Regions from separate parts of the Homo sapiens genome. Here regions 1, 3, 4, 5 and 6 are each linked to region 2. Evidence: promoter capture Hi-C in 16 types of primary human blood cells and fetal thymus (Javierre and others, 2016). All regions are on one chromosome and are shown on one strand. Each heading gives the region's core, a stretch centred on a gene start or on the middle of the fragment in contact. The rest is flanking DNA. Distances are from core to core; before and after follow the strand shown. Region 1 holds the start of PRMT1 (protein arginine methyltransferase 1). Region 2 holds the start of SLC17A7 (solute carrier family 17 member 7). Region 3 overlaps NOSIP (nitric oxide synthase interacting protein). Region 4 overlaps SLC6A16 (solute carrier family 6 member 16). Region 5 overlaps TRPM4 (transient receptor potential cation channel subfamily M member 4). Region 6 overlaps LOC107985340 (a long non-coding RNA gene).

The links. The method cuts DNA at HindIII sites, captures the fragments that hold promoters and counts their contacts. A CHiCAGO score of 5 or more calls a contact.
Region 1: a contact is called between a fragment that was not itself captured here and the fragment with the promoter of SLC17A7 in region 2, in 7 of 17 cell types (naive CD8 T cells, naive CD4 T cells, total CD8 T cells and 4 more). The highest score is 11.1, in naive CD8 T cells.
Region 3: a contact is called between a fragment that was not itself captured here and the fragment with the promoter of SLC17A7 in region 2, in 4 of 17 cell types (naive CD8 T cells, total CD8 T cells, naive B cells and 1 more). The highest score is 6.8, in naive CD8 T cells.
Region 4: a contact is called between a fragment that was not itself captured here and the fragment with the promoter of SLC17A7 in region 2, in 3 of 17 cell types (naive B cells, total B cells and endothelial precursors). The highest score is 13.6, in naive B cells.
Region 5: a contact is called between a fragment that was not itself captured here and the fragment with the promoter of SLC17A7 in region 2, in 1 of 17 cell types (naive B cells). The highest score is 5.8, in naive B cells.
Region 6: a fragment that was not itself captured here is called in contact with the fragment with the promoter of SLC17A7 in region 2 in 3 of 17 cell types (total B cells, naive B cells and endothelial precursors); the score reaches 9.1 in total B cells.

Annotation. Positions count from the first base shown.
Region 1 is chr19:49,674,696-49,679,106 of GRCh38, forward strand. PRMT1 (protein arginine methyltransferase 1) reads left to right here and starts at 2,576. Exons shown (of 11, transcript NM_001536.6): 1 at 2,576-2,621. The coding sequence starts at 2,586. RefSeq lists enhancers at 2,061-2,210, 2,215-2,946 and a silencer at 2,791-3,070. The HindIII fragment of the contact is 567 bases long and covers 1,675-2,241 here.
Region 2 is chr19:49,439,494-49,444,224 of GRCh38, forward strand. SLC17A7 (solute carrier family 17 member 7) reads right to left here and starts at 2,034. Exons shown (of 12, transcript NM_020309.4): 1 at 1,825-2,034. The coding sequence starts at 1,886. RefSeq lists an enhancer at 4,328-4,437. The HindIII fragment of the contact is 19,375 bases long and covers 1-4,731 here.
Region 3 is chr19:49,571,154-49,575,487 of GRCh38, forward strand. All of the region lies in intron 1 of NOSIP (nitric oxide synthase interacting protein), which reads right to left. Among named protein-coding and RNA genes, the nearest start is that of NOSIP, 7.2 kb to the right of the region's middle. The HindIII fragment of the contact is 3,513 bases long and covers 1-3,036 here.
Region 4 is chr19:49,287,452-49,291,898 of GRCh38, forward strand. SLC6A16 (solute carrier family 6 member 16) reads right to left here. Exons shown (of 12, transcript NM_014037.3): 11 at 3,154-3,316; 12 at 2,187-2,941. The coding sequence ends at 2,672. Among named protein-coding and RNA genes, the nearest start is that of MIR4324, 19 kb to the right of the region's middle. The HindIII fragment of the contact is 6,288 bases long and covers 1-4,447 here.
Region 5 is chr19:49,191,531-49,195,900 of GRCh38, forward strand. All of the region lies in intron 16 of TRPM4 (transient receptor potential cation channel subfamily M member 4), which reads left to right. Among named protein-coding and RNA genes, the nearest start is that of TRPM4, 36 kb to the left of the region's middle. The HindIII fragment of the contact is 1,803 bases long and covers 354-2,156 here.
Region 6 is chr19:49,239,634-49,244,016 of GRCh38, forward strand. All of the region lies in intron 2 of LOC107985340 (a long non-coding RNA gene), which reads left to right. Among named protein-coding and RNA genes, the nearest start is that of MIR4324, 67 kb to the right of the region's middle. The HindIII fragment of the contact is 3,473 bases long and covers 403-3,875 here.

The sequences.
Region 1 (4,411 bases), core at 708-3,207, 240 kb after region 2:
TGAACCCGGGAGGCAAGAGGTTGCAGTGAGTTGAGATCACGCCACTGCACTCCAGCCTGGGCAACAGAGCGAGACTCCGTCTCAAAAAAAAAAAAATTGTAGAAATGGGGTCTCCCTTATGTTGCCCAGGCTGGTCTCCACCTCCTGGGCTCAAGTGATCCTCCTACCTTGGCATCCCAAAGTCCTGGGATCACAGGCATGAGTCACTGTGCCTGGGCGGTTTGTCTCCTTTATAGGGCCATATCCCCCTTCACAGAGTAATGTTTGTAAATTAATAAGTGAAATGTACAGGATTACAAACCGAACCAATTACAGTTGATCCTCAGTATTTGTAGATTATTTGCAAATTTGCATCCTTGCTACAATGTATTCATACCCCAAAAATTAAGGCAGTGCTTTTGTGGTGTTTTGGAGGGCAATGCTTATGCACAGAGCTGCAACAAGCTAAAGACCTGATGTGCATATTTGCAGCTGGGCTCCTCTTGCTTCAGCTCAAACACTGGAAACAAATGTCCTTTTCTTGGTTTGTTTAGTGCCATGCTTTTCAATTTTTTTTTTTTTTTTTAAAGTTAGAGTCTCGGTCTGTCGCTCGAGCTGGAGTGCAATGGCTTCATCCTGGCTCACTGCAACCTCCACCTCCTGAGCTCAAGCGATTCTCCTGCCTCAGCCTCCCAAGTAGCTGGGATTACAGGCGTGTGCCACCAGTCCTGGCTAATTTTTTTATTTTTATTTTTATTTATTTTATTATTTTTTGAGATGGAGTCTCGCTGTGTCGCCTAGGCTGGAGTGCAGTGGCACCATCTCAGCTCACTGCAACCTCTGCCTCCCGGGTTCACGTGATTCTCCTGCCTCAGCCTCTGGAGCAGCTGGGACTACAGGCGCCCACCACCACACCCGGCTAATTTTTGTTTTTTTAGTAGAGACGGGGGTTTCACCATATTGGCTAGGCTGGTCTCGAACTCCTGAGCTTGTGATCCGCCCACCTCAGCCTTCCAAAATGCTGGGATTACAGGCGTGAGTCACCGCGCCCGGCCAAATTTTTTTTTTTTTTTTTTTTGAGACAAGAGTCTCGCTCTGTCACCCAGGCTGGAGTGCAGTGGCGCGATCTCAGCTCACTGCAAGCTCCGCCTCCCGGGTTCACGCCATCCTCCTGCCTAAGCCTCCACGCCCGGCTAATTTTTTGTATTTTTAGTAGAGACGGGGGTTTCACCATGTTAGCCAGGATGGTCTCGACCTCCTGACCTTGTGATCCGCCCGCCTCGGTCTCCCAAAATGCTGGGATTACAGGCGTGAGCCACCGCGCCCGGCCGCCTGGCGTAATTTTTGTATTTTTAATAGAAATGGGGGTTTCACCATGTTGCCCAGACTGGTCTCGAACTCCTGATGTCAAGTGATCCGCCTGCCTCCGCCTCCTAAAGTGCTGGAATTACACCCGTGAGCCATCGCGCCCGAACCCTATTGTAAATTTTAAGTCTCAGGCGTTTGCCAGCGGCACGCCAGAGAGTATAGCCTGCGCGGAGGCCCAGAAACCAAAGAGCGAGCTCATTCCGGGATTGGAGAGAAGTGTGAGCAGAGGGAAGTAGAGGGATCGGGGAGAGGAGGGGCAGGACCCACGCATTCGGCCCTTTGCATTCAGCTTCATTCAACTAGGAACTTTTTCTGCAAATCAAGGAAAGCTTCCCGGAGGAAGTGGTGCCTAAGCTGTGCTCTGATTCACGTTTAGAAGCTGACCAGACAAAGAGAGGTGGGCGTTCCTGGCAGGGGGAGGGACTTGGCAAAAACCAAGTGGCTTGAGAGGGGTTGATGGTTTTAAAAAACTTGGAATGATTATGTCAAGGGCTAGGGATTTAATGTGTTGACGACGGACTCCTATTCCTCACTTGCTTCGGGACCCCAGCTATGCCCTTCCTCTCTCTGGGCCTCTCACCGATTCCGTTTTTCCCCCAGGTAATGAGCACAAGCTCCCTTTTTCCTCCAGACTCCCCCCGGGTTGGGAGGATCCACCGAGTGGACGAGGAGTGATAATTCCTTTGAGCCAATCGTTGGTGCCTGAAGCCCCGCCTTCTTCCCTACCCGTGGGCCAATTGCCGTGTTCTCCTTGAGGCCGGCCGCTTGGCGAGGGTGGGCCAAAGGCTGCGTGACGTCGCTTCCGGATAAACCAATGGCAGCGATTAGGAGGCGGGTCGTTTTGGTGATGGACAGGTGTTTCAAGACGCCCCTTTAGCGCGGGGCTCCCCGGGAAGCTTTGAGGCGGTGCTGGGTGTAAAGGGGAGGGCATTCCTGGTGGATTTTGCCCAATCACCAGTCGCGCTTCTTGCAATAGACGGGCAGTTTTCCCCATCCCGGGTCGACTTGAGGGGGCGGGATTCTGGACGCCAGAGTTGGCAAACCCCTGACCTATGATGGACGTATTCTCTAGCCAATTACTAGACGGTATTCTCAGACGGGCCGCCTCCATTGCCAATGAAATCTTCCAGCGGGGTCGCGGTAGGCGGGCCGTGGACCCTCTGGTATAAGGCGGTCCCGGGGGAGTGAGGAGAAAGGGGGGGTCTTGGCGGCCGGAGGAGGAGTAGGTGCGGGTGAAGATGGCGGCAGCCGAGGCCGCGAACTGCATCATGGAGGTGAGCGCTTGGAGCGCCGCCGTGGGCGGGAGGCGGCTTTGGGTCGGTGTTTCACGCCTCTGTGGTGGGGAAAGGGCTCTAAGTTGGCGATATGGGGTTGGAGGTCCCCCGCCGCACACGGGGGCGCCGCACGTTCCACATCCGGGGATATCGTTTGAGGTGACGGCTCCCTAGCTTCCAAGGGCCTTCGGCATCCGGCCTAGCGGAGGGTCTTATCCCCCCTCCCACGTGGAGGAGGGCTGGGGGCGCTTCCGGCCAGGCCCCCACGTGGCCGCTGCGCGGTGGGTGGGGAGGGGGTGTGCCGAGTCCAGTGGCCCGGCGGGCTCCACGTGCGGGACAAAGGCCCCGCCCCCGGCCGGGGAGGGGCGCCCAGGGGGGCGGGGAGGGGGTCCGACCCTCCTGACGCCCCCAGCCCTCCTCCCCGGGGACCTGGGCACACGCCGTGGGGTGTGATCGACCTGGGGCCCTCCACGATGTGGGGAGTCTCTTGGGAGGAGCAGTGCTTCTCAGCCCTTTACCAACCTCCTTCCGAGCTCCGGGGGCATCTGTTGGGATATCGGACCCGGTTTTGTGCGTTCTGGGTTAGGGACTGGAGGAAAACCAAGAATGGGGTCCCCCGCCGACCCCGTTTCCCCTCCCAGAATTCTCCCCCTCGCCCAGGGCTTTAGGAGTTGGGGGATGGGGCATGCCCCTGTGACCTCCCTCTGGGTGGTGGTGGGGCATCTAGATAGAGATTTTCCCATTAATAGGCGCCGTGCACCCCCTTGTGGCCATTTCTGGGTGTGTGGGAGGGACATCTTTTTCATGGGGCGTGTCCTGAAGCCCACCTCCCCTCGGATTTCTTCCTGGCGGGCGGAGGGAGGAGGGTATGTCCGCTGGGAAGGAGTTGTGGGAAATATGTAGGCTGAGAGCTTTACCCTACTGGAGCCGTTTATCTCCCCCGGGTCTTTGTGAGGGTGCGAGATGACCTCCTTCTTCCTGAAGCCCTGTGCAGGGTCCTGAGCCCTGGGGTCCTGAGAGTGGGTGCCTGAAATGGTTTCGAGTGAGGTTTGGTTCTCGTGCAGCCATGTGGGGGAGGTTTCAGTCTTGCGTTTCAAGCCCTCTGGGGCTGGGGTTGTCTGGCGGTAGTTTTCAGTGGTATTGAGAAATAGGCCCGAGTGGGAAACCCCCTCAGCACCTTTCTTCTTATAGGCATCCCCGCTAGCTTGGGAGAGCTGGAGGGAGGGTGCTTGGAGCCTAGTAGGTCATGGCCTGTGACGTGGCCCTTCTTGGAGACTTGGATAGTGGTCACATCTGGAAGAGATGTAATCTGATGGGGCCTCTGTCCTTCCACCCCTTACCTATGGCATTGGCTGGAGGGGCAGGTCAGCTCTCAGCTGTCAGGATGCAGCTCCCAGGGGTCACTGTAATGACTTCCCACCCTCTTGGCTGTCTCCTGCACCTGGGGCTCTATGGATGGAGGAAATAACTTTCCCAGAGGTGGCCTCAGGCTTGGCCGCACCTGGAAGTCTTCAGGGCCTGGGATGGGTGTCTGAATGGGGGCGATGGCCTGACTCCCCAAGCCACTTTTTTTTTTTTTTTTTTTGAGACGGAGTCTTACTCTGTCACCCAGGCTGGAGTGCAATGGCTTGATCTCGGCTCATTGCAACCTCCGCCTCCCGGGTTCAAGCGATTCTCCTGCTTCAGCCTCCTGAGTAGCTGGGATTACAGGCACCCGCCACCAGGCCCAGCTAATTTTTGTATTTTTAGTAGAGATAGGGTTTCACCATGTTGGTCAGGCTGGTCTCAAA
Region 2 (4,731 bases), core at 784-3,283:
TCACTCTTCTCAAGGAAGAGCTCTGTTCTAGGCTTGGGAGGGAGACTGACCTGGGTTCAAATCATGGGGCTCATACTCATCCACTGATCTCCCCAACCCCAGAATGGAGCCTCAGTTTCCCCATCTTTGTCTAGAGGATTAAATGAGATCAACCTGTTGTCTCTAATATGGGGTATTCCCCTCTCCCTCCAACCATCAGAGCAAACCCCAGGCATTGGAAGCAAATGCTTTTCTCTGCACAAACTCCCTGCTGATGGTCCTGGCCAGAGCCCGGGGGTCTCTGGGGACCCAAGAGGTAACTCAGAGAGTGAGAGCCAGAGAGATTGACTGTGAGAAACCCTAGCACAGATGAGAAACAGAGGCAGAGACTGAGGGAGGGGCCTGAGGAATACATCCCTCCCGCTGCCACCCCCCAGCCCCCTCCACCAGCACGTCTCTTTCTCTCTCTCTCATTCTCCTGACTTCACACTGATGTATTTTGAGAAACTCGTGAAAGGAGGCGAGAAAAAGGGTGGGGAGGGGCTGGAAAATTGGAAAAAGAAGGGGTGAGGTTATCTCAGCTTCCCCTCCACCACCAACCTCCGTCACTGCACCATCCTCCTGCCCACCTCCCCCCACTTCTGTCCAGCCTTATTCTTGTCTCTCATGTTACTAGAGGGTGGGGTAACTTTGGAGCTAAGAGGTGATCTGCAGCAAGCAAGACTGATGTTAGACTTAGCAAAGGACCCCCATGGCCTAGCGAGGTGGACTGAAGCTCAGCGAAACACAGGGTCAGGGCTGTGGGCCAAGGGGACAGGGCCTGAGGGCACGGCGGCAGGGGCATGGTGCTGATGAGGCCATCTCCTTCGTGCACTGTGGCCAGATATATTTTTAGGCTTTTCCGCAGCTGAGTAATTTATCTGACTTAGAGCCAAAGCTGGGGTTGGGGGTGAGAGCCTGTGGGGAGGTGTCCAGATTATCCTGAGGGACACTCGGTTCACTGGGGTCATCAACCTGGTTGGGAGGGAGTCCCTGTCAGCCCCAGCCTGTATCCTTTGGGAAGGCTGTCCTACCCCAGGAGCCGAAATTTTTGGCCTCTAACTCCTTTCTCTCCCAGGGACCCAGGGTGCTGTGACTTCTTCCACCCAGCCTCACCCCCTCAAGGACAACGGGCTATGAGCCCCAATCCGCTTTAGCTGCAGATTAAACTCCATGCCAGACAGAAACGGAAAAAGACACAGAGAGACGGAGAGACCCATGGTGGGAGAATTAAAACACAGAGACGGGGACAGGGACCCAGAGAAGTGGGGACCAGAGATCCAGGGAAGAGGAGAGACCCAGAAAGAGGGGGACAGAGACTCTGAGTCAGGAGTTGATAGAGATCCAGTGAGAGCAATGGCCAGAGAACCAGAGAGAGGGGCACAGAGACGCAAAGAAGCGGAGGCAGAGATCTAGGGAGAAGGAGGGGCCCAGAGAGAAGGGAGCCGAGATCTGGAAAAAGAGGGAGACGGAGACCCAGAGAGAAAAGGGGCAGAGACATCCAGAAAGAGACGGGGACAGAGACCCAGAAGTGGTGGGGGAGGAGCCAGAGACCCGGGAGAGAGGCATTTACAGCACCAGAGAGAGTGGAGCCGGGTGGGGTGGGGTGCAGAAAAAGGAACAGGATAATGGACAAGGCTCGACCAGGGAGAACAGCGCCGTCGGAGCCCACGGCAGAAAACTGGACAGATGGGTGGACCCCCATGCCGGGGTATCGCCCGTTCATCTGTCAGTCTGCGCCCAGGTGGGAATTAGCATCCTCCTCAGATCCTCCCACTCTTCTCCCGGGACCCCCGCCAGGCTCACCGGTGCAGCTTCCCGAGAGCACGACCCGCTAGCTTCCGAAACTCCTCCTGGCGGAACTCCATGGTGGCGGCTCCTGCCGCCGGTCACCCCGCGGGTCCCCCCCGCCGATCCCCCCGCCCGCGGGCCCGGGCGGCCGCGTCCGGGTTCCCGGGGTCCAGCCCCGGCCCGGCCGGCCCCGCAGCTCCGCTCGGGGGGAAGGAGGCTGCAAGTGCAGGCGGCCCGGGGGCTGTCACAGGACTCAGCGCCGGGGGCGGGGCGCGGGAGGCCCCGCCCCGGCCCCACCAGGCCCCTCCCCTCGTCTGTCAGACCCGCCCCCTCTCGCAGCCCTTTCATCCTCGTCCTGTCCCCTCCTGAGCCTTCCAAGACCACGCCTGTGGGTTCTGAACTCACGCCTCCGAGTTCACGCCCCCCAATTCTGTTCCTTCCCCAGGCTACTCCCCCTATCCCTGTTCCATCACCCCTGGCTCCTACCCAGATTTTCTCTCCTCTCCTGAGTTCTCATCCCCATCATTTCTCTCCCCGACTTCTGTTCCCCCTAATTGCGTCCCTTACAATCCTGTCTTCTCTGACTTTCCCTCTGCGTTCATCCTCCAGTTCCTTCACTCCTCCCCGCCCCCACCCCGCAATTCCATCCCCATCCCACCTCGTCCCCAGTTCCAATAGTCTCATCCAGGGAGTTCTTTGTTTTCTCATTCAAGGGAAATTCTTTCCCCTCAAGTCCAACGCCTACTTCGATCCACCTGTCGTCCCCCTCTAGTCCCTTTCGCCACCCGGGTTCTTCACCCTTGAGCTCCATCTCCTCCTTAGTTTCCATCTTTCCCCTTTGAATCCCATACTCCTCCAGCTCTATTCTCCCTCCGGCGTCTCTCTCCTCCCTGTTGCTTCTCTCCCTGAGTTTCATTCCCTAACCCCGATTTTCTTCCCTCTGGCTTCCGCCCCCCACAGTTATATTTCACACACCCCGCCAGTGCCAGCTGCGACCCCATAGTCTCCCCATTGTGTTATTTCTCTGCTCCTCTGGGATCTGTCCGCGCTCTGAGTTCTTCCCTAGCTCCGGGGGATCCATTCCTCTATTTGAGTTCTGTCTCCACCCCCTGAGATCTGTCCCGCCCCCTAAATTGTGATCCGCACCCCCTGGCATCCTCACCCGCCCTCTGAATTTGTCTCCTCCCCTAGGATCTGTCGCTGACCTGAGTTCTGCCCCCGCCCTCTGAGTTCTCTCCCCACCGTTGGAGTTGTGTCCCCTTCTCCTAGGATCTGTCCCTGGCTCTGTTCCCGCCCTCTCAGTTCTGTCCTTGCCCCCTGGAATCTGTTCCTGCCATCTGAGTTCTACCCCTTCCCCACAGGATCTATCTCTGCCCCCTGGAATCTGTCCCCACCCACCGAGTTCTGGCCTCCGTCCCTGGGATCTGTCCCCGCCCTCTGTGTTCTACCCCTGCCCCATGGGATCTGTCCCCGCCCACCCAGTTCTCCCCGCCCCCTGGATCTCTCCCTACCCTCCCAGTCTTGCCCCGGCCCCATGGGATCTGTCCCCGCCCTCCGACTTCTGACCCTCGCCACTGGGATCTGTCCTCGACCTCCCAGTCCTGCCTCCGCCCCCGGAATCTGACCCCGCCCACCGAGCTCTGGCCTCCGCCCCTGAGATCTGTCCCCGCCCTCCCAGTCTTGCCCCTGCCCCATGGGATCTGTCCCCCGCCCACCGCCTCCGCCTCTGGGATCTGTCCCTGCCCTCCCAGTCCTGCTCCCACCCCCGGAATCTGTCCCCGCCCACCGAACTCTGTCTCCACGCCGGAATTCCAGCGCCGCCCCGTTGGGTAGAGCCCGGCCCTTCCCTGTCCTGGGCCCGCAGACAGGGTCCCGCCCCGCTCCTGTCCTCAGACCAGCCCATCTCCCGGCGCTGAGTCCACCTCCAGATCCAGGCCCCAGGAGGGTGATCCTTTCCCCACTACCTCCCCGCGTCGGGCCGCAAATGCATTTGGTATTAAATTTTCATGATGCGGCCCGCGGTGGGGTGGGAGGAGCAGACGGCGCGTCGGGCGGGCGCCAAGGACGGGGTGGCCGGGAAGCCACTGACCGCCGCAGCCTCTCGCTTCCAGCCTTGACTGGCTGTGTCTCTGGGTCTCACAGCTTTGAGAAACCCCTGGGACCCCAGAACGGAGGACGCTGCGGGTCTGAGGCAGGAGGGAGGTAGGAACTGGGACTCGTGGGGCTGAAGTAGCAGCGCGGGAGCCGCTCACACGCGCCACCCAGTGGCTGCAGAGTCCCCGGCCCGGGTGCGGAGGCGGTGGTTGCGGCTTGGGGCCAGGTGTGAGGGTGGAGCAGATGGTGAAGAGGAGGGAGTGGGAAGCGGGCCCCGCCGCTGCCAAAACTTGGGCCTTTGCCGAAACCATCGCCATGGAAACCGAGGAAGGAGGAAAGGACTCAGCCGCACACTTTTTCAGGACCTGGGAATGAGTTACTCGGCCCCCTCCAGCGGCTCACCGTCCCAACCACAAGTCCCAGCGGCCTCTGAGCCTCAGCGCTCGTTTGAGAAGGGCCGCGCACTCCGAGGGCCGCTGGGAGATGTAGTTCTCTGAGACGATGGGCAGGGAAAGGTTGCGCCCTCTGGTGGACACGGCGCCCACGTTCGCTCATCCGTTCCGCGGCCGGAAAGACCCTACCTGAAGTCACTCCCACCCTGACCTCTTCCCCGTCTTTTCTCCCCCTCCCTCACAATTCACCCCATTGCAGACACATTGTGCTTGCCTGCCTGCCTTTTCTTTCCTTCCTTCCTCTTCTTTCTCTTCTTTTTTCTTTCCTTCCTTCATTCCTTCTTTCTCTGTCTTCCTTCCTTTCCCCTTCCTCCTTCCTTTTTCTTTTTTTCTTTCCTTCCTTCATTCCTTCTTTCTCTGTCTTCCTTCCTTTCCC
Region 3 (4,334 bases), core at 30-2,529, 130 kb after region 2:
TTTGTATTTTTTAGTAGAGACAGGGTTTCACCATGTTGGCCAGGCTAGTTCTGAACTCCTGATCTCAAGTGATCCGCCCACCTCAGCCTCCCAAAGTGCAAGGATTACGGGCATGAACCACTGCACCCGGCAAACTCTTTGATTTTTAAAACTCAGTGATTTTTAAGATCCTGAGACCAGAAAGCGTGAGCGCCTCCAACCAAGGGTGGAAGAATAGCCAGTTTCAGGATTTACAAACTCTGAAAGCTGAGCTCTCCTGCCCCACACTATATTGTCTCTTTGGTAGGTCCAATTTCAAACTACAAAGCAGACTGCTGCCATCTGCTGTCACCAGCATTTCAGAGAGGAAACAGGCAAAGAGCAGGAGCGACCGATGTCAGCATAATCCCTACCTCACAGCACAGGAAACAGGCTCACAGCATGTCCCAGCTGGGAAATGGCAGAGCTGGGACTCAGACCCAGGCAGCCAGGCTCTGGAGCCATTCCTTTTAACTAGGTGACAACTGTCAGTTTTCCTAGGAAAGTCACAATCTCAGAAAAAAGGCCAATCAGGCTGGCCACGGTGGCTTAAACCTGTAATGCCAGCACTCTGGGAGGCTGAGACGGGTGGATCACAAGGTCAAGATGTTGAGACCATCCAGGCCAACATGGTGAAACCCCATCTCTACTAAAAATACAAAAATTAGCTGGGTGTGTTGGTGCGCGCCTGTGGTCCCAGCTGCTCGGGAGGCTGAGGCAGAAGAATCGCTTGAACCCAGGAGGTGGAGGTTGCAGTGAGCCCAGATCGCACCACTGCACTTCAGCCTGGCGACAGAGTGAGACTCTGTCTCAAAAAAAAAAAAAAAAAAAAGCCAATCCATTCCTTTATTTGTAGCCTTTGAAATCCAGAATGTATTTTACTCTTTCAGCACATCTCAGTAATTTCAGTAATTCAGATGCTAAATTTTCTTTTTTTTTTCTTTTTTTTTTGAGATGGAGTTTCGCTTTTATCACCTAGGGTGGAGTGCAGTGGTGTGATCTCGGCTCACTGCAACCTTCACCTCCCCGATTCAAGTGATTCTCCTGCCTCAGCCTTCCAGGTAGCTGGGATTACAGGCACCCGCCACCATGCCTGGCTAATTTTTTGTATTTTTAGTAGAGATGGGGTTTCGCCATGTTGGGCAGGCTGGTCTCGAACTCCTGACCTCAGGTGATCCACCCGCCTCAGCCTCCCAAAGTGCTAGGATTACAAGCATGAGTCACTGCACCCAGCCTTTTTTTTTTTTTTTTTTTTTTGAGACAGAGTCTCGCTCTGTTGCCCAGTCTGGAGTGCAAAATAGTGCAATCTTGGCTCACTGCAACCTCCACCTCCAGGGCTCAAGCCATTCTCCTGCCTCAGCCTCCCAAGTAACTGGAATTCCAGGCGTGTGCCACCATGCCCAGCTCATTTTTGTATTTTTATATTTGTATTTTTAGCACAGATGGGGTTTCACCACATTGGCCTGGCCATCAGATGCTAAATTTTCATTGGAGATACTTTAAAATATATATATATATATGGCTGGGAGCAGTGGCTCACGCCTGTAATCCCAGCACTTTGGGAGCCCAAGGCGGGCAGATCACCTGAGGTCAGGAGTTCAAGACCAGCCTGGCCAATGTGGCGAAACCCTGTCTCTACTAAAAATGCAAAAATTGGCTGGGTGTGGTGGCAGGTGCCTGTAGTCCCAGCTACTCGGGAGGCTGAGGCAGGAGAATCGCTTGAACCTGGGGGCAGAGGTTGCAGTGAGCCAAGATCGGGCCACTGCACTCCAGCCTGGCCAACAGATCAAGACTGTGTCTCAAAAAAAAAAAAAAAAAAAAAGCCCGGCTCTGAAGCAGACCCTGGCTCTAAGCATTTTACTGAATATCATAACACCTCAAACGGTCGAATATCACAACACTCCACTGAATATCACAGCACCTCAAATAGTTGCTATAAATGAAGAGAGGCACAGAGGCGGTGCCCTAGGTTATGCAGCTAGTGAGTCCTACAGCTGTGTTTGATCCAAGCACCTGTGGCTTTGACCATCCACTGTGCCAGCTGGCTGCAGGCGGCCTCAGGCACTGTGCTGAACTCTGGGAGTGGATCAGACAGCTAGTGTGTGTCTTGTCCTCCCCTGAAATCCTGTCTCCTTTCTCCTCCAGAGCACTGCCAAGGTTTGCCTCCTCCAAGAAGCCTGCCTCTCCGGGATCAGTTAGGTTCTCCTTGCACTTGACCGTGCCCTGAGCTACCTCCGTTACAGCCCGTCCCTCGGTATTTCGGCTCCAGAGTAGGGGCCCTGGTTGGTGGGGCCTGGGTTGAACTTCAGCCTGGGTCCCAGCATTGCCTGGCACCTGGGAGGTCTCAGAGATGTCATGATAGAATCAATGAACCACCTCCAATCCTAGGGCCAGGGGAGGTGGGTTAGCAATGAACTAACCATGCAGCCATGACATCATGCCATTAATACACTAATAATTCATTAGTAACATGTGAATCACAGAAGCACTGGAAGAACAGAAGTAATCATCACATCCTTCAACCCCTTAAGAATCAGACCTTGTGGGAAGCACTTTCCACATGTGAACACATTCGGTCCTCATGACAACCTCCCCACGTTCTGCCCATTTATTTTATTTTATGTATGTATGTATGTATGTATGTATTTATTTTGGAGACAGTCTCACTGTCACCAGGACTGAAGTATTTTTTTTTTTTTTTTTTTGGAGACGGAGTCTCACTCTGTCACCCGGACTGGAGTGCAGTGGCACGATCTTGACTCACTGCAACCTCCACCTCCCAGGTTCAAGTGATTCTCCTGCCTCAGCCTCCCAAGTAGCTGGGATTACAAGCACACACCACCATGCCTAGATACTTTTTTTGTATTTTTAGTAGAGACGGGGTTTCACCATGTTGGCCAGGCTGGGTCTTGAACTCCTGACCTCAGGTGATCTACTACCTCGGCCTCCCAAAGTGCTGGGATTACAGGCATGAGCTACCGCGCCCAGTCTTGCTCATTTAATAGGTAGGAAAATTGAAGCTTGGAGAAATTGGCCTCTTCCTCAGTCTATTCCTTGACAAACCAGCCTCAGGGGGGCTTTTCAGAATGGAAGTTTGATTAAGTCACTCTCTTCAACTGCTTCTTGGACATGACTCAAGACAAAAACCAAATTATTCAGACTAAGTGTAAGAGAAATGGGAGAATAGGAAAACTGCCATTTTGCAACCTCTGGTGAAATAGCTGACTCAGGCAATGATTGTTGATGGATGGCATTAAAGGAGAGGCTGATGGGGCCTGGATAGTCACAGGATGCTAATTCTTGCTACTGGAAAATACACAGTTGTAGCTTTACAATGCGGTTTTCGATGGCTGCCACCTGTCTCAGTCTGCTCCAGCTGCCATAACAAAACACCACTCTGGGTGGCTTAAACAACAGACCTATTTTCTCCAGTTCCTGAGGCTGGAAGTCTAAGTTCAGGCTACCAGCATTGTGGGGTTCTGGTGACACCCTCTTCCTGGTTTGCAGATGGCTATCTTCAGTGGCAGAGAGAAAGCTCTCTGGTGTCTCCTTCTGTTTTTTGGGAGGAGTCTCACTTTGTCACCTAGGTTGGAGTGCAGCGGCGGATCTCGCCTCCCAGGCCCAAGTGAATCTCCTGCTTCAGCCTCCTAAGTAGCTGGGATTACAGGCGTCCACCACCATGCCTGGCTAATTTTTTTTTTTTTTTTTTGAGACGGAGTTTCGCTCTGTCACCCAGGCTGGAGTGCAGTGGCGTGATCTCGGCTCACTGCAAGCTCTGCCTCCAGGGTTCATGCCATTCTCCTGCCTCAGCCTCCCGAGTAGCTGGGACTACAGGCGCCCGCCACCATGCCCGGCTAATTTTTTTGTATTTTTAGTAGAGAGGGGGTTTCACCACGTTAGCCAGGATGGTCTCTATCTCCTGACTTCGTGATCTGCCCACCTCGGCCTCCCAAAGTGCTGGGATTACAGGCGTGAGCCACTGCGCCCGGCCTCATTTTTGTATTTTTAGTAGAGACAGAGTTTCACCATGTTGGCCAGGCTGGTCTTGAACTCCTGATCTCATGTGATCCACCTGCCTTGGCCTCCCACAGTGCTGGGATTATAGGCATGAGCCACCATGCGCAGCCTCCTCCTATTATAAGGACACCAATCCATCAGATTAGGGCCCCACTCTTTCACCTTAATTATCTCCACAAAGGCCCTACCTCCAAATATAATCACCTTGGGGAATTAGGGCTTCAATATACGAATCTGGGGGGGACATTCAGTCTATAATGCTGCCTGAGCCTGAATGAATTTCACTACCCCTGAAAATG
Region 4 (4,447 bases), core at 1,128-3,627, 150 kb before region 2:
ATCTCAACTTCAGTTGTATCTTCCAGAATTCCCATGTGTTGTGGGAGGAACCCAGGGGGAGGTAATTGAATCATGGGGGCTGGTCTTTTCCATGCTGTCTCATGATAATGAATAAATCTCATGAGATCTGATGGGTCTATCAGGGATTTCCACTTTTGCTTCATTTTCTCTCTTGCCACCACCATGTAAGAAGTGCCTTTCACCTCCCGCCAGGATTCTGAGGCCTCCCCAGCCATGTGGAACTGTAAGTCCAATTAAACCTTTTTGTTCCCAGTTTCAGGTATGTATTTATCAGCAGCATGAAAACTAATACAGTAAACTGGTACCAGTAGAGTGGGGTGTTGCTGAAAAGATACCCAACAATATGGAAGCAACTTTGGAACTGGGTAACAGGCAGAGGTTGGAACAGTTTGGAGGGCTCAGAAGAAGACAGGAAAATGTGGGAAAGTTTGGAACCTCCTGAAGACCTACTGAATGGTTTTGACAAAAATGCTGATATGAACAATAAGGTCCAGGCTGAGGTGGTCTCAGATGGAGATGAGGAACTTGTTGGGTACTGGAGCAAAGATGACTCTTTATTATGTTTTAGCAAAGTGACTAGTGGCATCTTGCCCCTGCCCTAGAGATTTGTGGAACTTTGAACTTGAGAGAGATGATTTAGTGTATCTGGCAGAAGAAATTTCTAAGCAGCAAAGTATTCAGAAGGTGACTTGCGTGCTGTTAAAAGCATTCCGTTTTAAAAGGGAAACAGCATAAAAGTTCAGAAAATTTGCAGCCTGATGATGCAGTGGAAAAGAAAAATCCATTTTTGAGGAGAAATTCAAGCCAGCTGCAGAAATTTGCATGAGTAGCAAGGAGCCTAATGTTAATCCCTTAGACCATGGGGAAAATGTCTCCAGGCCATATCAGAGACATTCATGGCAGCCCCTCCCATCACAGGCCCAGAGGCCCAGGAGGAAAAAGTGGTTTTGTGGGCCAGGCCCAGGGTCCCCATGCAGTGTGCAGCCTAGGGACTTGGTGCCCTGTGTCCCAGCCACTCCAGCCATGGCTGAAAGGGGCCAACGTACAGCTCGGGCTGTGGCTTCAGAGAGTAGAAGCCCCAAGCCTTGGCAGCTTCCACGTGATGTTGAGCCTGCGGGTGCACAGAAGTCAAGAATTGAGGTTTGGGAACCTCCGCCTAGATCTCAGAAGATATATGGAAATGCATGGATGTCCAGGCAAAAGTTTTCTGTAGGGGCAGAGCCCTCATGCAGAACCTCTGCCAGGGAGGGAAATGCAGAAGGGAAACGTGGGGTCAGAGCCCTCACACAGAGTCAGAGTCCCTACTGGGGCACTGCCTAGTGGAGCTGTGAGAAGAGGGCCACTGTCCTCCAGACCCCAGAATGGTAGAACCACTGACAGCTTGCACCCTGAGCTTGGAAAAGCCACACTCAACACCAGCCCGTGAAAGCAGCTGGAAGGGGGACTGTACCCTGCAAAGCCACGAGGTGGAGCTGCCTAAGACCATGGGAACCCACCTTTTGCATCAGCATGACCTGGATGTGAGATCTGGAGTCAAAGGAGATCATTATGGAGCTTTAAAATTTGACTCCCCTGCTAGATTTTGGACTTGCATGGGCCCTGTAACCCCTTTGTTTTGGCCAATTTCTCTCATTTGGAATGGCTGTATTTACCTGATACCAGTACCCCCATTGTATCTAGGAAGTAACTAGCTTGTTTTTGATTTTACAGGCTCATAGGTGGAAGGGACTTGCCTTGTCTCAGATGACACTCTGGACTTTTGGATTAATGCTGAAATGAGTTGAGACATTGGGGGACTGTTGGGAAGGCATGATTGCTTTTGAAATGTGAGGACATGAGATTTGGAGGGGCCAGGGGCAGAATGATATGGTTTCACTGTGTCTCCATTTAAATATAAACTTCAATTATATCTCCCAGAATTCCCACGTGTTATGGGAGGGAACCAGGGGAGGTAATTGAATCATGGGGGCTGGTCTTTTCCATCCTAATCTCGTGATAGTGAATAAGTCTCATGAGATCTAATGGGTTTATCAGGGGTTTCCACTTTTGCTTCTTCCTCATTTTTTTCTCTTGCTGCCATCATGTAAGAAATGCCTTTCACCTCCCACCATGATTGAGGCCTCCCCAACCATGTGGAACTGTAAGTCCAGTTAAACCTCTTTTTGTTCCCAGTTTCAGGTATGTCTTTATTAGCAGTGTGAAAATGAACTAATACAGACTGGAAGCCTTGTGACAGGAAAACTGAACATCTGAGACATCTATAGGAAAAAAAGATCTGCTTACATCCAGTCCTTGGAGTTCCAGTAGACTGATTTATTCACCAACAGCATTGCTCCTCCAGCTCCATTCCAGGAGACAGGCACCCCAGAAGTAGCAGGACTGGTAGACATCACTAGTATTGTATATGTGTTGTGCATGTATGTGTGTTGAGGAAGAGGATGGGGAAAACAATGATGGTGGTCACCAGGTAAGATGGGACCCAGGAAGGGATTGCAAGTCCAGGCCCCATGAACACCCCCAAAGAATGCCCCTCCTCTTGGAAATAAAAGTGGTTCTGGATCCAGGGAGATCAACAGTTGCAAGCTGATATTAAGAGTTGTCTATTGGATCTGTTCTAAGGGATATGTTATGTGAAGCCAAATTAATGAAGTTAGGAAGTCACATTACAAGTTGATGGGTACTTTGTTTCATCAACTTGTAGAATTTCTTCCTTTTGAACCTCTTTACTGGGTGTTAGCTGGTGACTTAGGGGTAGGGATGTGGAGGCTGTCATAGGCCCGTCTCCGCTCTTGGGCCTGAAGGGAATCCTATGTATGCGGCAGTATACAAAGTATGCAGGGATGGGGAGGATGACAATGGCAAAAAGGGTGATCATCAAGAGCAGTGCCCACGGTGGGTATGGTCGAAGCACCTCTTTTGACTGTGGAGAGATGGGAAAAGGGTTCAGAATATCAAAATCCCCAAGAGAAAAGGAAGAGTTGTGGAGGGGAAGGATGGGTGGGGAACCAAAGCAGAAAACCCATGAGTCTTCGGGCAGTAAGAGAATGAGATGACTGGGTTCTTTCACCCAGAGTGAATTGAAAGGTCTGGCCCCTACTCCCAAAGGGGTTCTGGGTCCTGGGGGAGGCTCACGGTGCTTGAGTCCCAGGACATGTAGGTGATCGGCTTCATACAAAGATGAACCATCATGGTCACAAAGATGATTAGCAGCACAACTGGACACAGATGGGGCCACAGCCAACCAAAGATGGGAGAGATGGGGTGGCCCAACAGGATCGTCAGGTCTGCAAGGAACCTGGAGAAGGGCCACCAGAGTGTGGGATGCCCAGTTAGGCCTCACCACCTTGGAGGCAGGGCCAGCCCAACCTTGGCATCTTTCAAACATTCTATTGTATCTCTAATCTCCTGTTTCATCTCAAGTCTTGTCCTCTCTCATCTTCCCCCTAGTCAGTCTGTCTTCTATCCTAACCCAAGAAACTTTTCCAAACACCCCTCTCCTGCTCAAGAACTTTCCATGGGTATCCAATGGCCTCAGGAGAAAGGCCAAGTCTCTTTCATTCATCCCATAAATATGAGAATGTCTATGATGTGCCAGGAACTCTTCTAAGTGCTGGATATCCAGCAGTGAACAACACAGATAAAATAAAGTGGCATTTGGCCCTTGGTGAACTTATCTAGTTTATTTCAGCCACCTATCCAGTCTCCTTTAGTACATATTCTCAATCTCAATAAATATACAAGTGGGGTCTTTTGGTCTAGGGTGCCCATCACCCTATCTCCACCTATTCATCTGTCCAGGCTCTGCTCAAGCATCCTCTTCTCTAGGCCACCTTCCCTAACTCTCCAGTCTTCCTTAACTAACCATCTATGCCCCCGGAGTTTCCCTGGCTACCTCTACTATAGACTTACCACCGGGTACTGGGATTTTCTGCTTATATACGTCTTTCTCTTTGGACTCTGAGCTCTTTGAGAAGAGTATCTCAATGTAAGTCATTCATATCCCAGTACCACAAGGCTTTCCTGACACAAAGTCTCAAGAAAATGTTTGTTGGGTGAGTTAATAAATGAGTCCATAAGTGAGCAAACTGACTCCAAGAACCACTATCAGATGAAAATGCTGAGGCTTTCACCCCTGAATTATACCAGGAACTCTTCTAAGTGCTGGATATCCAGCACTGAACACAGATAAAAGAAAGTGGCATTTGGCCCTTGGGAAACTTATCTAGTTTATTTCAGCCAACTATCCAGTCTCCTTTAGTACATATTCTCAATCTCAATAAATATACAAGTGGGGTCTCTTGGTCTAGGGTGCCCATCACCCTATCTCCACCTATTCATCTGTCCAGGCTCTGCTCAAGCATCCTCTCCTCTAGGCCACCTTCCCCAACTCTCCAGTCTTCCTTAACTAACCATCTGTGCCCCCGGA
Region 5 (4,370 bases), core at 5-2,504, 250 kb before region 2:
TTTGAAATGGGGTCTCGCTCTGTCGACCAGGCTGGAGTGCAGTGGTGTGATCTCCGCCTCCTGGGTTCAAGCGATTCTCCTGCCTCAGCCTCCCGAATAGCTGGGACTACAGGAGCCCACCACCACACCTGGCTAACTTTTGTACTTTTAGTAGTGACAGGGTTTCATCACATTGGCCAGGCTGGTCTTGAACTCCTGACCTTGTGATCCGCCCGCCTCAGCCTCCCAAAGTACTGGGATTACAGGCATGAGCCACCATGCCTGGCCCAGGGATTACATTTCAATGTGAGATTTGGAAGGGACAAACATCCAAACTATATCACACGTCCCATCAGGGACTGAGATACTGAGGAAGCTTCCCAGGTGCCAAGCTCAAGACTTGGCTCAAGATTTGGTTCTGCCATCAAGGAGGCCATCACCAGAAATTGATTTTCTTCATGCTACACATACTTCCATCCCTCTGTAGCAAGCGGAATCAGTTGATTGAGGGATTTTTCACCTATTTTGTTCGTGGTCCCAAGGCCCCTGCTTTTAATCACTATGCTATGGTTGCCGTTAAGGTATTTTAAAAGTCAGGCCTAAGCAAATGAAATAGAATATTTATCAAACTTCTTTTTTTGTTGTTGTTTTTGAGGCGGAGTCTTGCTCTGTCGCCAGGCAGGAGTGCGGTGCCGCGATCTCATCTCACTGCAACCTCCGCCTCCTGAGTTCAAGCGATTCTCCTGCCTCAGCCTCTCAAGTAGCTGGGATTACAGTCACCTGCCACCACGCCCAGCTAATTTTTTTGTATTTTTAGTAGAGACGGGGTTTCACCATGTTGGCCAGGATGCTCCCCATCTCCTGACTTTGTGATCTGTCCTCCTCAGCCTCCCAAAATGCTGGGATTACAGGCATGAGCCACCATGCCTGGCCTATATATAGTTTTTTAAGACAATGTAGAGAGGATACAAAATATTTATCTGTAGCCATAAAAAAGAACGAGATCATTTCCTTTGCAGTGACATGGTTGGAGCTGGAGGCCATTATCCATAACAAACTAACAGGAACAGAAAACCAAATACCCCATGTTCTCACTTATAAGTAAGAACTAAATGATGAGAACACATGGACACACAGAGTGAAACAACACACATTGGGGCCTATTGGAGGACAGAGGGTAGGGCGAGGGAGAGGACCAGGAAAAATAACTAGTGGGTACTAGGCTAAATACCTGGGTGATGGAATAATCTGTACAACAAACCCCCATGACACAAATTTACCTACCTAACAAACCTGCACATGTACCTCTGAACTAAAAATAAACGTCAAAAAATAAAAAAAAGAACAAAATATGTATCAAGAGAGAAGGGAAAAACTAAGATAAACATTTGGACCACTGAGAAAGGTTGATAGAAGGCCCCAGTGTCTGAGGTCAGGATCAGTAATGGTGTCCTTCCCTAGCAATTTCTCATCTGCACATGTGATGATGATGACGACCTTGATAACAGCTGATGTTATGAAACACGTACAATGAGCAACTACTGTGCTCAATTCTTTTGAAAATCAGTTGGTTTTTTTTTTTTTTTTTTGAGATGGAGTCTTACTCTGTCGCCCAGGCTGGAGTGCAGTGGCATGATCTCGGCTCACTGCAAGCTCCTCCTCCCGGGTTCACACCATTCTCCTGCCTCAGCCTCCTGAGTAGCTGGGACTACAGGTGCCCGCCACCACGCCCGGCTAATTTTTTTGTATTTTTAGTAGAGCTGGGGTTTCCCCGTGTTAGCCAGGATGGTCTCGATCTCCTGACCTCGTGATCTGCCCGCCTCGGCCTCCCAAAGTGCTGGGATTACAAGCATGAGCCACCGCACCCGTCCGGAAATCAGTTCGTTTAATTCCAACAACCCAGTGCAATAGGGCCTATAATTATTCTCATTTTGCAGGTGAAATAATGGAGTCATTCAGTCACTTGCCTCAGATCATGTGGTTGGTAAATGGTAGAGCCGAGATTTGATCCCAGATCCTCTTGTACCTGAGTCTGTGCTCTCAGCCCCTGTGGAGCCCCCCCACTGAGAGCTCTGTTGAAGGACAGATCCCAAGATCCCCCCAGAGAGGCTGGGGCTGAGCCCAGGAACCTGCCTGTGGCCTGGCTGGAGGTGATTCAAGATGGCAGATGTGGGGGAAGCTTTCTGACCCACCGCTCTCCCTTCTTACCAGGATTCTGCAGGAGAACTGTGAAATACCATGATGGTTTTCTCTATCAGTAGGGAGCTTGCTGTCCTCTCTGCATCTGACCTTCTTTCTCTAGGAGTTCTTAGTTTCTGTAGCTTTCACTATTCTCCTCCTTCTCCTCCTCCTTCTCCTCCTTGTCCTCCTCCTTGTCATCCTCCTTCTCCTCCTCCTCGTCATCCTCCTTCTCCTCCTCCTCTTCATCCTCCTCCTCCTTCTCCTCCTCTTCCTACTCATCCTCCTCCTCTTCCTCCTTCTCCTCATCCTCTTTCTCTTCCTCCTCCTCATCCTCCTCCTGCTCCTGCTCCTCCGCCTTCTCCTCATCCTACTTCTCCTCTTCATCCTCCTCCTGCTCCTGCTCCTCCGCCTTCTCCTCATCCTACTTCTCCTCTTCATCCTCCTTCTCCTCTTCCTCCTCTTCATCCTCCTCCTCCTGCTCCTGCTTCTCCGCCTTCTCCTCATCCTCCTTCTCCTGCTCCTCCTCCTCCTGCTCCTCTGCCTTCTCTTCATCCTCCTTCTCCTTCTCCTTTCTTCTTCTTTGAGACAGGATCTTGATCTGTCACTCAGGCTGGAGAGCAGTGGCGCGATCATGGCTTACTGCACCCTCAACCTCCCAGGCTAAGCCATCCTCCCACCTCAGCCTCTCAAGTAGCTACAGATGCATGCTATGCTCGGCTAATTTTTATATGTTTTGTAGAGATGGGGTTTCGCCATGTTGCCCAGGCTGGTCTCAAATTCGAAGGCTTAAGTGATCTTCCCACCTCGGCTTCCCAAAGTGCTGGGATTACAGGCATACACCACTGCGCTTGGCCTCACTTATTTCCTTCCTTCCTCCTTCCTTCCTTCTTTCCTTCCTTCCTTTCCTTTCCTTTTCTTTCCTTCCTTCCTTTCTTTCCTTCCCTTTCTTTCTCTCTCTCTTTCTCTCTCTGTCCCTCCCTCCCTTCCTTCCTTCTTTTCTTCCTTCCTTCCTCCCTCTCTTTTCTTTCTTTCTCTATCTCCTTCCCTCCCTCCCTCTCTCCCTCCCCCCAACCCTTCCTTCCTCCCTTCTGAGACAAGGTCTCACTCTGTTGCCTCCGCTGAAGTATAGTAGCTTGATCTTGGCTCACTGCAGCCTCAACCTCCCAGTGTCAAGTGATTCTCCTGCCTCAGCCTCCTGAGTAGCTGGGACTGCAGGTATAAACACACCTGGCTAATTTTTTTTTTTTTTTCTGTAGAGATGGGGTTTCACCATGTTGCCCAGGCTGGTGTTGAACTCCTGGGCTCAAGCAATCTGCTCACCTTGGCCTCCCAAAGTGCTGGGATTTCAGGCTTGAGCTACCACGCCCAGCCTCACTTTTTTTTCTTTTTTTTTAAATGGCAGCTTTATTGAGCTGTAATCCACATATCATACCGTTCACTTACTTAAGGTATACAATTCAGTGCTTCTTGGTGTACTCACAGAATTGTGAAATCATTTCCACAATTCATTTTCAAATATTGTCATCACTCCAACAAGAAACTCTGTACATGCTTAGCACTGCTTTTCGTTTTCCCAGCCCTAGGCCACCATTCATGTACCTGCTGTCTCTGGGTTTGCCTGTTTTGCACACTTCACATAAGTGGAGCCATGCACTCTATGGTCTTTTCTTCTTCTTCTTCTTTATTTTTTTATTTTTTGAGACGGAGTTTTGCTCTCGTTGCCCAGGCTGGAGTCAATGGCGCGACCTCAGTTCACCACAACCTCCGCCTCCCGGGTTCAAGCGATTCTCCTGCATCAGCCTGTCAAGTAGCTGGGATTACAGGCATGCGCCACCACGCCAGGCTAATTTTGTATTTTTAGTAGAGACGGGGTTTCTCCATGTTGGTCAGGCTGGTCTCGAACTCCCGACCTCAGCTGATCTGCCTGCCTCGGCCTCCCCAAATGCTGGGATTACAAGCGTGAGCTAGCGCGCCCAGCCCGTTTCTACTTTAATTTTTTTTTTTTTTTTTTTAGACAGGGTCTCGCTCTATTGCCCAAGCTGGAGTGCAGTGGCATGTTCATGGCTGACTGCAGCCTGGGCCTCCTGTACTCAAGTGATCCTCCCATTTCAGCCTCCCCAGTAGCTGGGACTACAGGTGCTTGCCCCTACTACTGGCTAAATTTTTATTTTTATTTATTTTATTATTATTATTATTATTATTTTTGAGAC
Region 6 (4,383 bases), core at 889-3,388, 200 kb before region 2:
TATAGATGAGTATTGCCTTTATTTATTTATTTATTTATTTATTTATTTATTTATTTGAGACAGAGTCTTGCTCTGTCACCCAGGCTGGGGTGCAGTGGCTCAATCTTGGCTCACTGCAACCTCTGCCTCCTGAGTTCAAGCAATCCTCTTGCCTCAGCCTCCTGAGTAGCTGGGATTACGGGTGTGTACCACTCGGCTAATTTTTGTATTTTTAGTAGACACAGGGTTTCACCATGTTGGCCAGGCTGGTCTCAAACTCCTGACCTCAAGTGATCTGCCCACTTTGGCCTTCCAAAGTGCTAGGATTACAGGCATGAGCCATCGCGTCCGGCCGAGCATTGCCTTTAACTTAAAGTCACCAGCTGCATTCGCCTCTAACAAGAAAGCCCACCTGTCCTTTGAAGCTTTGAAGCCAGTCATTGATTTCTCTATAGCTATGAAAGTCCTACATGGCATCTTCTTCCAGTAGAAGGCCTTTTGTCTCCATTGAAAATCTGTTGTTTAGTGCAACCACCTTCATCAATGATCTTAGCTAGATCTCCTGGATAACTTGCTGCAGCTTCTCCATCAGGACTTGGTGCTTCACCTTGCACCTTTTTTTTTTTTGAGATGGAGTCTCACTTTTGTTGCCCAGGTTGGAGTGCAATGGTGCGATCTTGGCTCACTGAAACCTCTGCCTCCCGGGTTCAAGTGATTCTCCTGCCTCAGCCTCCTGAGTAGCTGGGATTACAGGTTCCCGCCACCACCCATGCCTAATTTTTTTTCTTTTTGTAATTTTAATAGAGACAGGGTTTTGCAACGTTGGCCAGTCTGGCCTCGAACTCCTGATCTCAGGTGATCCTCTCGCCTCAGCCTCCCAAAGGGCTGGGATTACAGGCATGAGCCACCGTGCCCAGCCACCTTGCACTTTTCTTTACGGAGATGGCTACTTTCCTTAAACCTCATGAACCAACCTCTCCTGGCTTCAGGCTTTTCTTCTGCAGCTTCCTCCTCTCAGCCCTCATAGAACTGAAAAGTGTTAAGGCTTTGCTCTGGATTAGGCTTTGGCTTAAGGGTTTTACCTTCTGTCCAGACAACACTTTCTCCATATCGGTAATAAGGCTGTTTGACTTCTTATTTTTTATTGATTGATTGAGACAGAGTCTCGCTCTGTTGCCCAGGCTGGAGTGCAGTAGCACACAATCTCAGCTCGCTGCAACCTCCACCTCCCAGGTTCAAGCAATTCTCCTTCCTCAGCCTCCTGAGTAGCTGGGACTACAAGTGTGCGCTACCACACCAGCTAATTTTTGTATTTTTCGTAGAGATGGGGTTTCACCATGTTGGTCAGGCTGGTCTTGAACTCTTGTCCTCAAGTGATCCACCCGTCTCAGCCTCCCAAAGCACTGAGATTACAGGTGTGAGCCACTGCATGCGGCCACTCCTTAGTTTTGTGTTCACTGGAGTAGTACTTTTGATATCTTTCAACTTTTCCTTTGCATTCACAACTTAGCTAACTGGTGCAAGAAGCCTAGCTTTTGGCCTGTCTTATCTTTTGATGAGCCTTCCTCATAATCATTTCTAGCTTTTGATTTAAAGTGAGAGATGTGTGACTCTTCCTTTCACTTGAACACTGCGAGGCCATTGTAGGGTTATTAACTGACCTAATGTCAATATTGTGTGTCTCAGGGAATAGGTAGGCCCAAGGAGAGAAAGAGATGGGGGAATGGCCGGTGGGTGGAGAAGTCAGAACACACGCAACATTTATTAAGTTTGCCATTTTATATGGGCATAGTTTGTGGTGGCCCCAGTGACAATAGAAACATCAAAGGCCACTGATCACAGATCACCATCACAGATGGAAGAATAATAATGAGGCCGGTGCGGTGGTTCACGCCTGTAATCTCAGCACTTTGGGAGGCCAAGGCAGGTGGATCACAATGTCAGGAGTTCGAGACCAGCCTGGCCAACATGGTGAAACCCCGTCTGTACTAAAAATACAAAAATTAGCAGAGCATGGTGGTGGGCACCTGAAATCCCAGCTACTCGGGAGGCTGAGACAGGAGAATCGTTTGAACCCAGAGGCGGAGGTTGCAGTGAGCCAAGATCACAAAATTGCCCTGCAGCCAGGGCACAGGGTGAGACTCTGTCTCAAAAAAAATAATAATAATGAAAAGATTTAAAATTTTATTGTGAGAATTACCAAAATGCAGCCCAGAGACACACAGTGAGCGCATGCCGTTAGAAAAAAATGGTGCTGATAGACTTGCTCAATGCAGGGTTGCCACAAACCTTTGATTTGTTAAAAAAAAAAAAATGCAGTATCTGTGAAGCACAATAAAGCTAAGTGCAATAAAATGAAGAGTGCCCTATAAGAGCTTAGTCACCCTTCACCTCGAGTCCTTGATTGTGATATCTTACCGTGTTTCCTTTATCATCACCGCCTTTCACATTTATTATAACAATACCTATTATGTAGCAGACCCATTTGAGAGTAAGCTGTAGACATGATGCCCCTTTACTCCTAAATACTGCAGTGCGTATTTCCAGAACGGGGACATTCACCTGTGTAACCACAGTGCCATTGAAATCATGAAAGTAACATCGATCTACTTCTATTATCTACAGACCTTATTCGTTTTTCCCAATTATTCCAATATGCTTTTTTTTTTTTTTTTGAGTTGGAGTCTTGCTCTGTCACCCAGGCTGGAGTGCAGTGGCGTGATCTCAGCTCACCAGAACATCTGCCTCCTGGGTTCAAGTGACCCTCGTGCCTCAGCCTCCTGAGTAGCTGGGATGACAGGCATGCGCCACCAGGCCCGTCTAATTATTGTATTTTCTGTAGAGATGAGATTTTGCCATGTTGGCCAGGCTGGTCTCGAACTCCTGACCTCAAGTAATCCGCCTGCCTCTGCCTCCCAAAGTGCTGGGATTACAGATGTGAGGCACTGCGCCTGGCCTAGTCTGTTTTTCTTTTTTCTTTTTCTTTTTTTTGAGACAGTCTCTTGCTCTTGTCACCCAGGCTGGAGTGCAATGGTGTGATCTCAGCTCACTGCAACCTCTGCCTCCTGAGTTCAAGCAATTCTCCTGCCTCAGCCTCCTGAGTAGCTGGGATTACTGGCACCCACGACCACACCCGGCTAATTTGTGTATTTTTAGCAGAGATGCGGTTTCACCACATTGGCCAGGCTAGTCTCAAAGTCCTGACCTCGGGTGATCCCCCCACCTCGGCCTCCCAAAGTGCTGGGATTACGGGCGTGAGCCACCGTGCCCAGCCCCCTGTGAAGTATTAAGAAGGGCACTGGGGCTTCCTGTAGCACTTGGAACAGTGTTCTCAGTGCCCATACGTGTCACCACCCTAATCTCACACAAAAAAGACCTCAGGTGATCCGCCTGCCTCTGCCTCCCAAAGTGCTGGGATTACAGATGTGAGGCACTGCGCCTGGCCTAGTCTGTTTTTCTTTTTTGTTTTCTTTTTTTTTTTTCCACTGGAGCCGGAGCTCAAGTGACTTAGGAAGCATCTCCCACGTTGGATTTTACCTTCCTTCCACCACAGCCCAGGTGATTTGCAGTTCCTGGTGGCTGGTGGTCTGTCCTGGCTCTGAGAGGAGACAAAAGGGGTGGGGGTGAGGGTGGGGAGGGGGTCCCAGCCTCTTCTCTCCCTGCTAGAGTTTAGCCCCACCCCTATTCCACACAGCCGTTCCCCAGGCTGGGACATCCCAGACCCAAAGTCCCTGGAGAGCGAGGGAGGAGGAGGAAGGGGCCCAGGGGGTGGTGGGCCTTTGCCTCTGAGCTCTCAGGGCTCTCTAAATTGGGCTGTAGAATTGGTTACGTTGGGGATGCAGGAAGAAAAATTGACGACTTCTGCTTCTATTTTTTAAACAAAAATAAGCAAAATAAGCTTCACTGATACCGTGTGTAGAATGACAGTAGATCACAACGTAAATTTTCGATGTTTGTTTGCGATGTTTTTTCAGAAAGTTGTTATCTAATAGGGGAGTGTGACAAACGTTTAGAGACTTCTAAGGTAAATAAAAAGGTGTGAGGGGCAGGTGGAGATTTGGGAATTGGTCGGGAACCAGGAAGCTGGCATTGATTTTTTTTTTTTTTCCAAGGCCATGAACTTTGTGGGGATGAAGGGGTCTTTGCCCAGGAAGTCACTGAGCAGTATGGCTTCTAGAAGATGCCTCCCCTGCCCCGAGCTGCCTTAACCCCGTTTGACGTTCAAAGACGCAGGTGATGTCACCCCCTCCCACTGACAACACAGTAAGGTCCAAGTTCTCTGAGGCTTCTTGGGCCGTGGCCCAGGGAAAGCAGGTGACCCACCTCCCAGTGCCGAGTGGGCAAGGAACTCGACCCCGAGTAAGGACCAAGCATGACGGTGAGCTAGAGAGGACCTACATGCCA